2 separate regions of the Homo sapiens genome follow, and region 1 is linked to region 2. The links are contacts of gene promoters, found by promoter capture Hi-C in blood cells and fetal thymus (Javierre and others, 2016). All regions are on one chromosome and are shown on one strand. Each heading gives the region's core, a stretch centred on a gene start or on the middle of the fragment in contact. The rest is flanking DNA. Distances are from core to core; before and after follow the strand shown. Region 1 overlaps MISP3 (MISP family member 3). Region 2 holds the start of GIPC1 (GIPC PDZ domain containing family member 1).

Region 1 (4,686 bases), core at 691-3,190, 420 kb after region 2:
AATACAAAAAATTAGCCGGGCGTGGTGGCAGGCGCCTGTAGTCCCAGCCATTCGGGAGGCTGAGGCAGGAGAATGGCGTGAACCCGGGAGGTGGATCTTGCAGTGAGCCGAGATCGCACCACTGCATTCCAGCCTGGGTGACACAGCGAGACTCCGTCTCAAAAAAAAATAAAAAATAAAAAATTAAGAGGTTAGATTCATTTTCGTGATATTTTATTTAACCTGTTATACCCAAAATATTATTTCAATGTATAATCCATGTAAAAAAATTATTGAGGTATTTTCCTTTTTTGTACTGTCTTAGAAATCTTGGCCGGACATGGTGGCTCATGCCCATAATCCCAGCACTTTGGGAGGCCGAGACAGGTGGGTCACTTGAGGTCACGAGTTCGAGACCAGCCTGGCCAACATGGCAAAATCCTGTCTCTACTAAAAATGCAAAAAAAAAAAACAAAAAAAAAAAAGGTGGGTGTGGTGGTGGGCGCCTGTGATCCCAGCTATTCAAGAGGCTGAGCCAGGAGACTCGCTTAAATCTGGGAGATGGAGGTTGCAGTGAGCCGAGATCGCACCACTACACTCCAGCCTGCGCAACAGAGCGAGACTCCATCTGAAAAAAAAAAAAAAAAGCCAGATGCAGTGGCTCACACCTGTAATCCCAGCACTTTGGGAGGCCGAGGCAGGCAGATCATGAGGTCAGGAGTTTGAGACCAGCCTGGCCAACATGGCGAAACCCCATCTCTACTAAAACTACAAAAATTAGCCGGGCATGGTGGCAGGTGCTGGTAATCTCAGCTACTCTGGAGGCTGAGGCAGGAGAACCGCTTGAGCCCAGGAGATGGAGGTTGCAGTGAGCCGAGATCGTGCCATTGCACTCCAGCCTGGGCAACAAGAGCAAGACTCCATCTCAAAAAAAAAAAAAAAAAAAAAAAGGAAAAGAAATCTAGCATTTCACATTTACAACATATCTCAATTCAGACTAGCCACAAGCAGCTCTAGACGGTCTCCTTTAAGTCAAATCCACTGTCTCTTAAGACAGGGTTTCGGGTGGGTGGTGACAGTACAGTACTGGAAGGGGAAGGAAACAAGCTTTGTTTCCTGGGTCCTGTTGCTGAGCAGCTTTCTACACCCTTGATTCTCAAACTTCCTAGTGTGCATCAGAATCACATGGAGAGTTTGATCATTAAGTCTGGGATGAGACCCAAGAAAGTGCTTTTTTTTCTCTCTCTCTTTTTTTTTTTTGGTAGAGACTTTGTCTTGCTATATTGCCCACACTGGTCTTGAACTCCCAGACTCAAGCAATTATCCCACCTCAGCCTCCCAAAGTGCTGTGATTATAGGCATGAGCCACCACACCTGGCCCCTGGAAGGCGCATGTCTAGCAATTCCCCAAGCATTGCGGATACTGCTGGTCCTGGTGCCACTACATTGAGAACTGCTGGTTTATATTTACTTCATGGTTCTCAGACTCAGCTGTATATTGTAATCACCTGGGAGCTTCAAAAAATACTGATGTCAAGCCCTTCCCCCATTCTGATTTACTTGACATATGGGGGCCTCAGTTGAGTTTAATATTCAGAAAAGTTAGAGAATCCCTCATCTATACTTAAGTAGTCCTGTCCACTCTTTTTTTTTTGGAGATGGAGTCTCGCTCTGTCACCCAGGCTGGAGTACAGTGGTGCAATCTCAGGGCTCACTGCAACCTCTGCCTCCTGGGTTCAAGTGATTCTCCTGCCTCAGTCTCTTGAGTAGCTTGGACTACAGGCATGCGCCACCATGCCTGGCTAATTTCTTGATTTTTAGTAGAGATGGGGTTTCTCCATGTTGGCCAGGCTGATCTCGAACTCCTGACCTCAGGTGATCCACTCGCCTTAGCCTCCCAAAGTGCTGGGATTACAGGCATGAGCCACTGCACCAGGCCTAATTTTTGTATTTTTAGTGGAGATGGGTTTTCACCATGTTGGCCAGGCTGGTCTCAAACTCCTGACCTCAGGTGATCCACCCACCTTGGCCTCCCAAAGTGCTGGGATTACAGGCATGAGCCACCATGCCCGGCCCCTGTCCACTCATGACATACTTAGTTCTTGGCTCCCCTGCTGGAAATTAAGACCAGCCTCTAGGTGTTTCCATTTTCCACCTTCCCAGGCTCTCTCCGCCTTTCTCTACATAGCTCCCACAGTCACAGTGAAGTATGCTGAGGATGGGGTCACTGGGCTGAGGATGGGGTCAGCTGATGAGCCCTTCATGGGCTGAGCTGCTCTTGGGTGCAGCCTTGTATCAGCATGACCTCTCTGTATTTTATGCATATGGATTTCACTAGACATTTGATGCCCCTATACAAGAGACAGAGTTGGACAGAGCCAAGAATTTGTTTTTGTTTAAGACAGAGTTTCGCTCTGTCACCCAGGCTGGAGTGCAGTGACACGATCTCAAGAGCCAAGAGTTGAAACAGCGATTCTAAAATGTTCCTGGGTTGGGTGTGGTGGTTCACACCTGTAGTCCCAGCTACTCAGGAGGCTGAGGCAGGAGGATCACTTGAGCCCAGGAGATCAAGGTTACAGTAAGCTGTGATCATGCCACTGCACTGCAGCCTGCGTGACAGAACAAGACTTGTCTCCAAAATTGAAAACATTTTTAAATTTAAACTTCCTGGGTCTCCCCTTTTCTGGTCTTAGTGAATTTTTTTTTTTTCTTAGGTTACAGATCTCACTCTCACCCAGGCTGGAGTGCAGTGGTTCAATCATAGCTCACTGTAGCCTCAACCTCCCAGGCTCAGGCGATCTCCTGCTAAGCTTCCAGAGTAGCTGGGACCACAGGCACATGCCACCACACCCGGTTAATTTTTTGTAGAGATGGGGTGGGGCAGTGTCTCGCTATGTTGCCCAAGCTGGTCTTGAACTCCTGGGATCAAGCAATCCTCCTGCCTTGGCCTCCCAAAGTGCTAGAATTACAGGCATGAGTCACCATGTCTGGTCCTCAGTGCACTTCTTTTTTTTTTTTTTAATATGGAGTCTTGTTCTGTCACCCAGGCTAGAGTGCAGTGGTGCAATCTCGGGTCATTGCAACCTCCACCTCCCGGGTTCACGCCATTCTCCTGCCTCAGCCTCCTGAGTAGCTGGGACTACAGGCACCCACCACCACGCCCGGCTAATTTTTTTTTTTTTTTTTGTATTTTTAGTAGAGATGGGGTTTCACCATATTAGCCAGGATGGTCTTGATCTCCTGACCTCGTGATCCACCTGCTTTGGCCTCCCAAAGTGCTGGGATTACAGGCGTGAGCCACCGCGCCAGGCCCTCAGTGCACTTCTAAGACACTGTAAAAATAGTCCCAGAATGTTAACTGTGCAGATACAGTTTTAGAGACAATTTAGGGTGTTCACCCACCCTCTTGAACCCCCATCCAGGGGAGAGAAATTAACCAGAGCTTGCAAATTGACAGCCACAGGCCCTATTGCAAACAGTTGTTGCTTGCCAACTTCCTTCCTTCCTCTCCTCCCGCACAACTTTAAAAGTTTTTTCTAGGCAGGGCGCCTAGAAAAAACTGGGAGGCTGAGGCCGGCAGATCACTTGAGGCCAGGAGTTCAAGACCAGCCTGGACAACATGGTGAAAACCCATCTCTACTAAAAATACAATAAATTAGCCGGTGTGGTGATGTGCACCTGTAATTCCAGCTACTCGGGAGGCTTAGGCAGGAGAATTGCTTGAGCCCAGGAGGCAAAGGTTGTAGTGAGCTGAGATCGCACCACTGCACTCCAGCCTGGGTGACAGAGCAAAACTGTCTCAAAAAAAAAAAAAAGTTTTTCCTAAATAGTCACAATCATAAAAATGCAGATTTCTCTCTTAAAAGCCAGGTTTCAGTTGCCTTTTTTATTTTTTTGAGGCAGAGTCTCACTGTGTCACCCAGGCTGGAGTGCAGTGGCCCGTTCTTGGCTCACTGCAACCTCCGCCTCCTGGGTTCAAGTGATTCTCATGCCTCAGCCTCCTGAGTAGCTGGATTACAGACATGCACCACCACGCCCGGCTAATATTTTGTATTTTTAGTAGAGACGGGGTTTCACCGTGTTGGCCAGGCTCGTCTCCAATTCCTGGCCTCAACTGATCCACCCACGTCGGCCTCCCAAAGTGCTGGGATTACAGGCGTGAGCCACCGCGCCCGGCCACGGATGCTTTTGGAAAGCAGAAACTCTTGACCCAACACCACGAATGAGCACGTCTCATAGTGAGGACCCATGAGGTCAAGAAGAACGGTGATCATTAGGAACTAATAATGTTGAGAAGCCTGAACCCTCACCACCTCTTTTTTTTAGTAGCTATTGTTTACGTTCCCAGGGTAGGAACAGCCTCTTATCACCACTGTCTAGCCAGTGCCCAGCGCAGGGCACATCGTTGGCACCAATAAATGTTGACGAGGAAGCCTGGAAACGAGAGGGTGTGAACTCGGTAAGCGCGCCACATTTTGCGCCCGGGCCGCCAGGGGGCGGTAGGACCTGGGCCAGGCCGTGTCTGGCCGTGCCGGGGGAGGCGGGCAGCCCCAGAGCAGGGCGGTAAGGGCGCATTCCCGCATTCCGGCCCGCACCTCTTGGGGTTTTCTCGGGCCTCCCTCGGCCCGCCGTGCTCCCGCCCCACCCCAGACGAAGAGGACCCAGAAAAAAACAGGCTGCAGTGCCCTGAAAGAAGAGGCTTTATTG
Region 2 (4,480 bases), core at 1,433-3,932:
AGGCCAAAGAGGGAGGATGGCTTGAGCCCAGGAGTTCAAGACCAGCTCTGTGCAACATGGTGAGACCCTGTCTCTATCAAAAAACAAACAAATGGGCCTGGCACAGTGACTCATGCCTGTAATCCCAGCATTTTGAGAGGATGAGGCAGTTGGATCACTTGAGGCCAGGAGTTCGAGACCGGCCTGGCCAACAGGATGAAACCCTGTCTCTACTAAAAATACAAAACTAGCCAGATGTGGTGGCGGGTGCCTGTAATCCCAGCTAATCAGGAGGTTGAGGCAGGAGAATCGCTTGAACCTGGGAGGTGGAGGTTGCAGTGAGCCGAGATTGCGCCATTGCACTCCAGCCTGGGCAACAAGAGTGGAACTCTGTCTCAAAACAAACAAACAGACAAACAAAGGAATAGACTGCGTGCAGTGGCTCATGCCTGTAATCCCAGCATTTCAGGAGGACGAGGCAGGTGGATCACTTGAGGCCAGGAGTTCGAGACCAGCCTGGCCAACATGGCGAAACCCCGTCTCTTTTAAAAATACAAAAAATTTAGCCGAGCATGATGGCGCACGCTGTAATCCCAGCTACTCAGGAGACTGAGGCGTGAGAATTGCTCGAACCTGAGAAGCGGAGGTTGCAGTAAGCTGAGATTGCACCACTGCACTGCAGCCTGGGTGACAGAGTGAGGCTCCGTCTCAAAAAAACAAACAAACAAACAACAACAACAACAAAAATTAGCCAGGTGTGGTGGTACATGCCTGTGGTCCCAGCTACTCGGTAGGCTAAGATGGGAGGATTACTTGAGCCTAGGAGGTGGAGGTTGCAGTGAGCTGAGATCCTGCCACTGCATTCCAGCCTGGCCAACGGAGCTAGACACTGTCTCAAAAAAAAAAAAAAAAAAATTCAGAAAGGAGGTGCCCAGTGCTGCTCTGTGTCTTGAGCAATCCCACAATCCCATCACCCCTTCTCCGGGCACTTCCTCATCAGGAAACAGGAGCCAGTTGGAGTCTGGCTCAGGACTCTGCAGCCTCAGTCATGCTGTCCCCTGGGCTCAGCATCCCGTCCTCTCCAAGTGTGCAGGGGGCAGCTTAGATGCCAGGCTCAAGCAGGGCAGGCAGCACAGTCCCACAGAGGGTACTGGCCAGCCCAGGCAACTGATTGCTCAGTGGGATGGCAGAGGTCAGCAGAACAGGAAGGGACGGACAATAGCTGTGCCTGTTGCCTGGCCTGCCACAGCAATCTCGGTGTTTGCCAGCTGGGTGGGGCTGGCTAGGCAATCCTCAGCAGCAAAGCTCAAGGTTCCATCTCCCATTTTAGTTTGCCCCTCTGCAGGTCCTGGTGGGACTGATATGCACAACATCTCACCCTGGGAACTGCAAAGAACCAGTCTTTCTATGGAGCTTGAGCAGGGTCTCAGCACTTAGAGGCTTCCAGGAACTACAGTTCCCAGAACACACAGCATTCAGCCCCAGTTGCTGTCCAAGTGGCTGGGTTTGAACTAGAACAAGGAAATCTCACTTGTCCCGGGAACTGAGCGTCCTGGCCTGGTCCAGGTGCATTTGTGACTCTTGTTTCTTGGATCTGTGTCCACCTGATAAATCCCCCTTCCTTATAAACTACATGGTCTATTTGTCCACACAGGTTTGCTGAGAACCTGCCGTGTGGCAGCCTGAGGTGGGAGTGAGGGGTTGACAAGAGAGACTCAGCCTCCACCCTCACAGTCAGATGGAGGAGACAGATCTATGAAAGGCTGGCTGGGTACCTTCTGTGACCTAGCACATAAACAAACCAACAAGCAGATAAACTATCTCACCCTTGTCTTTCATTGCATCTTGCCTTTCCACACTGATTTACTAGCTCCCACGATATTGCAGTATCCTAAAGCGTGCTGTATCTCTCTGTCCGGCTTTTGCACGCTCTGTTACCTCTACCAGGAGCACATTCAGCTTATTCACTGACGCGTCTTCAGAGGTAGGACAGAGTCTGGCACGGAGCAGTCTGGCACATTAAATATTTGATGAGTGAGTGAACGAATGAATGAATGAATGCCTTTGTCCATTGTACAGCCCAGGAAGCAGGGAAACTCGGGACCCTCCCTATTCATCTCGATCCCCCGCCCGCCCCCAGAGATTGAATGCATCTTTTTATCCGCTCCGAGGATGGCCAGGCTGGGGCAGAGGAGGCCGGGCAGGGAACTGGGTTGGGGACTGCCATTGACCCCCACCCAGGTCTCCTAAACTGTCCGCTTTCCTGGACGTCGGAAGTTCGAATCCTTTCCCCGAAACCTGGCCTAGGTCACCTGACTCCCCCGCCCCTCACCACCCAGGGCACCCGAGACTGACACTCAGCCGACAGCACGTGGTTCAGGGGCCCCAGCTTCCTTCCCATTGGCCGCTTGTCTCCTTCCTCCCTCGCGATTGGCCGGGGCCCAGCTGCAGCTCCCCCCCCTCCTCAGCCCTCCGGTGGTACAGCCAGCCGCGGCTTAGGCGGGGCGGAACGGTCCACTGCTTCGCGGCGAGGGGAGGAGTCGGGAAGAGCCGGGCGAGGCGGAGGGATCCCTCTGGAATGTTTCCGTCGGGTCCACCCGAAGCGGAAGACGCGGATTGGCTGCGAGCACCGAGAGGCAGCCGCTGATTGGCCGGCCGCGGGCGTCGGCCCCGCCCCCCAGGCGCCGCTGCGGGAGAGGCCCGGTCTGGAGTTTGCGGAGGGCCGAGCCGGGTGCGCACGGGGAGGCGGAGGCAGCGGCGGCGGCGGCGGCGGCGGCGGCGGCGGCGGAGCAGGTGAGTGGCCTCTGCGAGAAGGATGTGTCTGCTCCGGGGGCCTCGGGGGTCGCGGGCCTGCGAGGATCCGGCCGATCCTGCAGGGTGGGGCCGGCGCCGTGGACGCGACTGGAGGTCTAGGCTGCGCGCGGGGATGCCGGAGGCCCCTTCCCAGGGGAAGCGGGGGTGGGGGGTGGTGGGGGCAGCTCCCTTCCTGCTGGCGGGCAGGGGACAAACGCCTCCCAACGCTGGGCTGGGGTTTCTGGGCTTGCCCCTCCCCCCGTCCCCCGGCTGGACTGTCCCCATCCCAGCGTGGACAGGCGCGGGGTCAGTGTTTCTGACCCTTTCCTGGGCACTTCCCCTGAGCTAACCGCGTCTGAACCCTCCAGGGCCTTGGGGGGGACGCAGTGAGGACCACGGTCTGAATAATAATCGTCATGAAAAACTCCACCTCAGCTAGCATTTATTGGAGAGCTTCCGTGTCAGGCATTTACCATGAGGATAATTGACTCTAAACACCTCATGGGAGGTGCTGTGCCTTCTTGTAAAAAAGGTGAGGCAGCCTACCCAGAGAGGTGGAGTGACTTGCCCAAGGTCACACAGCTAGTAACTGGCACATCTGGGACTGGAACTCATGCCCCAGGGTCCAGAACTGGAGTCACACCCACTAGACTGGATACCAATAACTCCACGGCTCAGTTGTTGCTGAGTAGCTCCGGCCCCCTACCCCTCCCACCCCCTACCCCGTACTCATCATCAGGGCCACACCTGCTGGTCTTTTGCTTTACCAGCCACTCAAACAGGAAGCTGCCCTCCTTTCCCTTCTCCCCAGAGCTGGAGAGGGCAGGTCTAACTACCTGGGTCCAGAGAAGAGAGTGGCGTCTGCAGGGGGCCAGGATGCTGGGGTCTGGGCCCACTGGGTTCCCCCCTGGCAACCTGGGCCGAGGCTGGGAAGTAGGCGTTCTCCCCGGAAACACCCAGGAGCCGGTTTTTCAAGAGTGAATCAGAGGCCTCTTTCCCTCCTTCTCTCCAAAGCAACACTGTGCTGGAACGGGGAGCCTGGGCGTGGTTTCCCCCTTCCCCTAGCTTCTGTGTGCTCCCAGGAACCCCCTTCCCCTCCTCCTGCTGGCCACACTGCTTCTGTGTGGCCGTGGGGTTGCTAAGTTTCAGGCCCTTCCCAGGATGAGGGGGTGAGGATGCTGAAATTCCAGCCCAAACACTCAATATCCGGGCTGAAGTGGCTCTTCATCTCTGTGTTCAGGTGTGAGGGGAGCCAGGGAAAGTGGGGAGCCTAGGACAGTTGGCAACCGCACAGCAGGCATGTTTAGGGGGCTGTTTCAAGGATGGGGAGCACAGAGAGCAATCAGAACGAGGACCTGAGACACATTCATTCACTCAGTCTACAAATATTTAGTGAGCACCTGCTACGTGCATGTGCTAGGCACTGTTCTTGGCACAGAAAATGCAACAGTGAACAAAACAAAATCCCTACTTTTGAGGAGTTGGCACTCTGAAAGGAAGGAAGCAGCCAACAAACAAGTTAGCAAGTAAATAAAGAAGATAATTTCAGATGGCACTAACTGCTATGAATAAAATATGAGCGGGTGGTACTGTAGAGAGTAGTTGTGGGCAAGGGGTGCCAGCCCAGCAAAGATCAGGCAAGGGGGCCCGGGCGCGGTGGCTCACGCCTGTAATCCCAGCACTTTGGGAGGCCGAGGCGGGTGGGTTG

Evidence for each region. The method cuts DNA at HindIII sites, captures the fragments that hold promoters and counts their contacts. A CHiCAGO score of 5 or more calls a contact.
Region 1: a fragment that was not itself captured here is called in contact with the fragment with the promoter of GIPC1 in region 2 in 1 of 17 cell types (M0 macrophages); the score reaches 5.4 in M0 macrophages.

What each region holds. Positions count from the first base shown.
Region 1 is chr19:14,075,038-14,079,723 of GRCh38, reverse strand. MISP3 (MISP family member 3) reads right to left here. Exons shown (of 3, transcript NM_001291291.2): 3 at 4,662-4,686. Among named protein-coding and RNA genes, the nearest start is that of MIR1199, 4.0 kb to the right of the region's middle. RefSeq lists a silencer at 4,312-4,547. The HindIII fragment of the contact is 1,703 bases long and covers 1,089-2,791 here.
Region 2 is chr19:14,494,329-14,498,808 of GRCh38, reverse strand. It overlaps GIPC1 (GIPC PDZ domain containing family member 1), which reads left to right and starts at 2,682. Exons shown (of 9, transcript NM_005716.4): 1 at 2,682-2,772. RefSeq lists enhancers at 661-1,160, 2,441-3,367 and silencers at 2,349-2,408, 2,549-2,778. The HindIII fragment of the contact is 11,428 bases long and covers 1-4,480 here.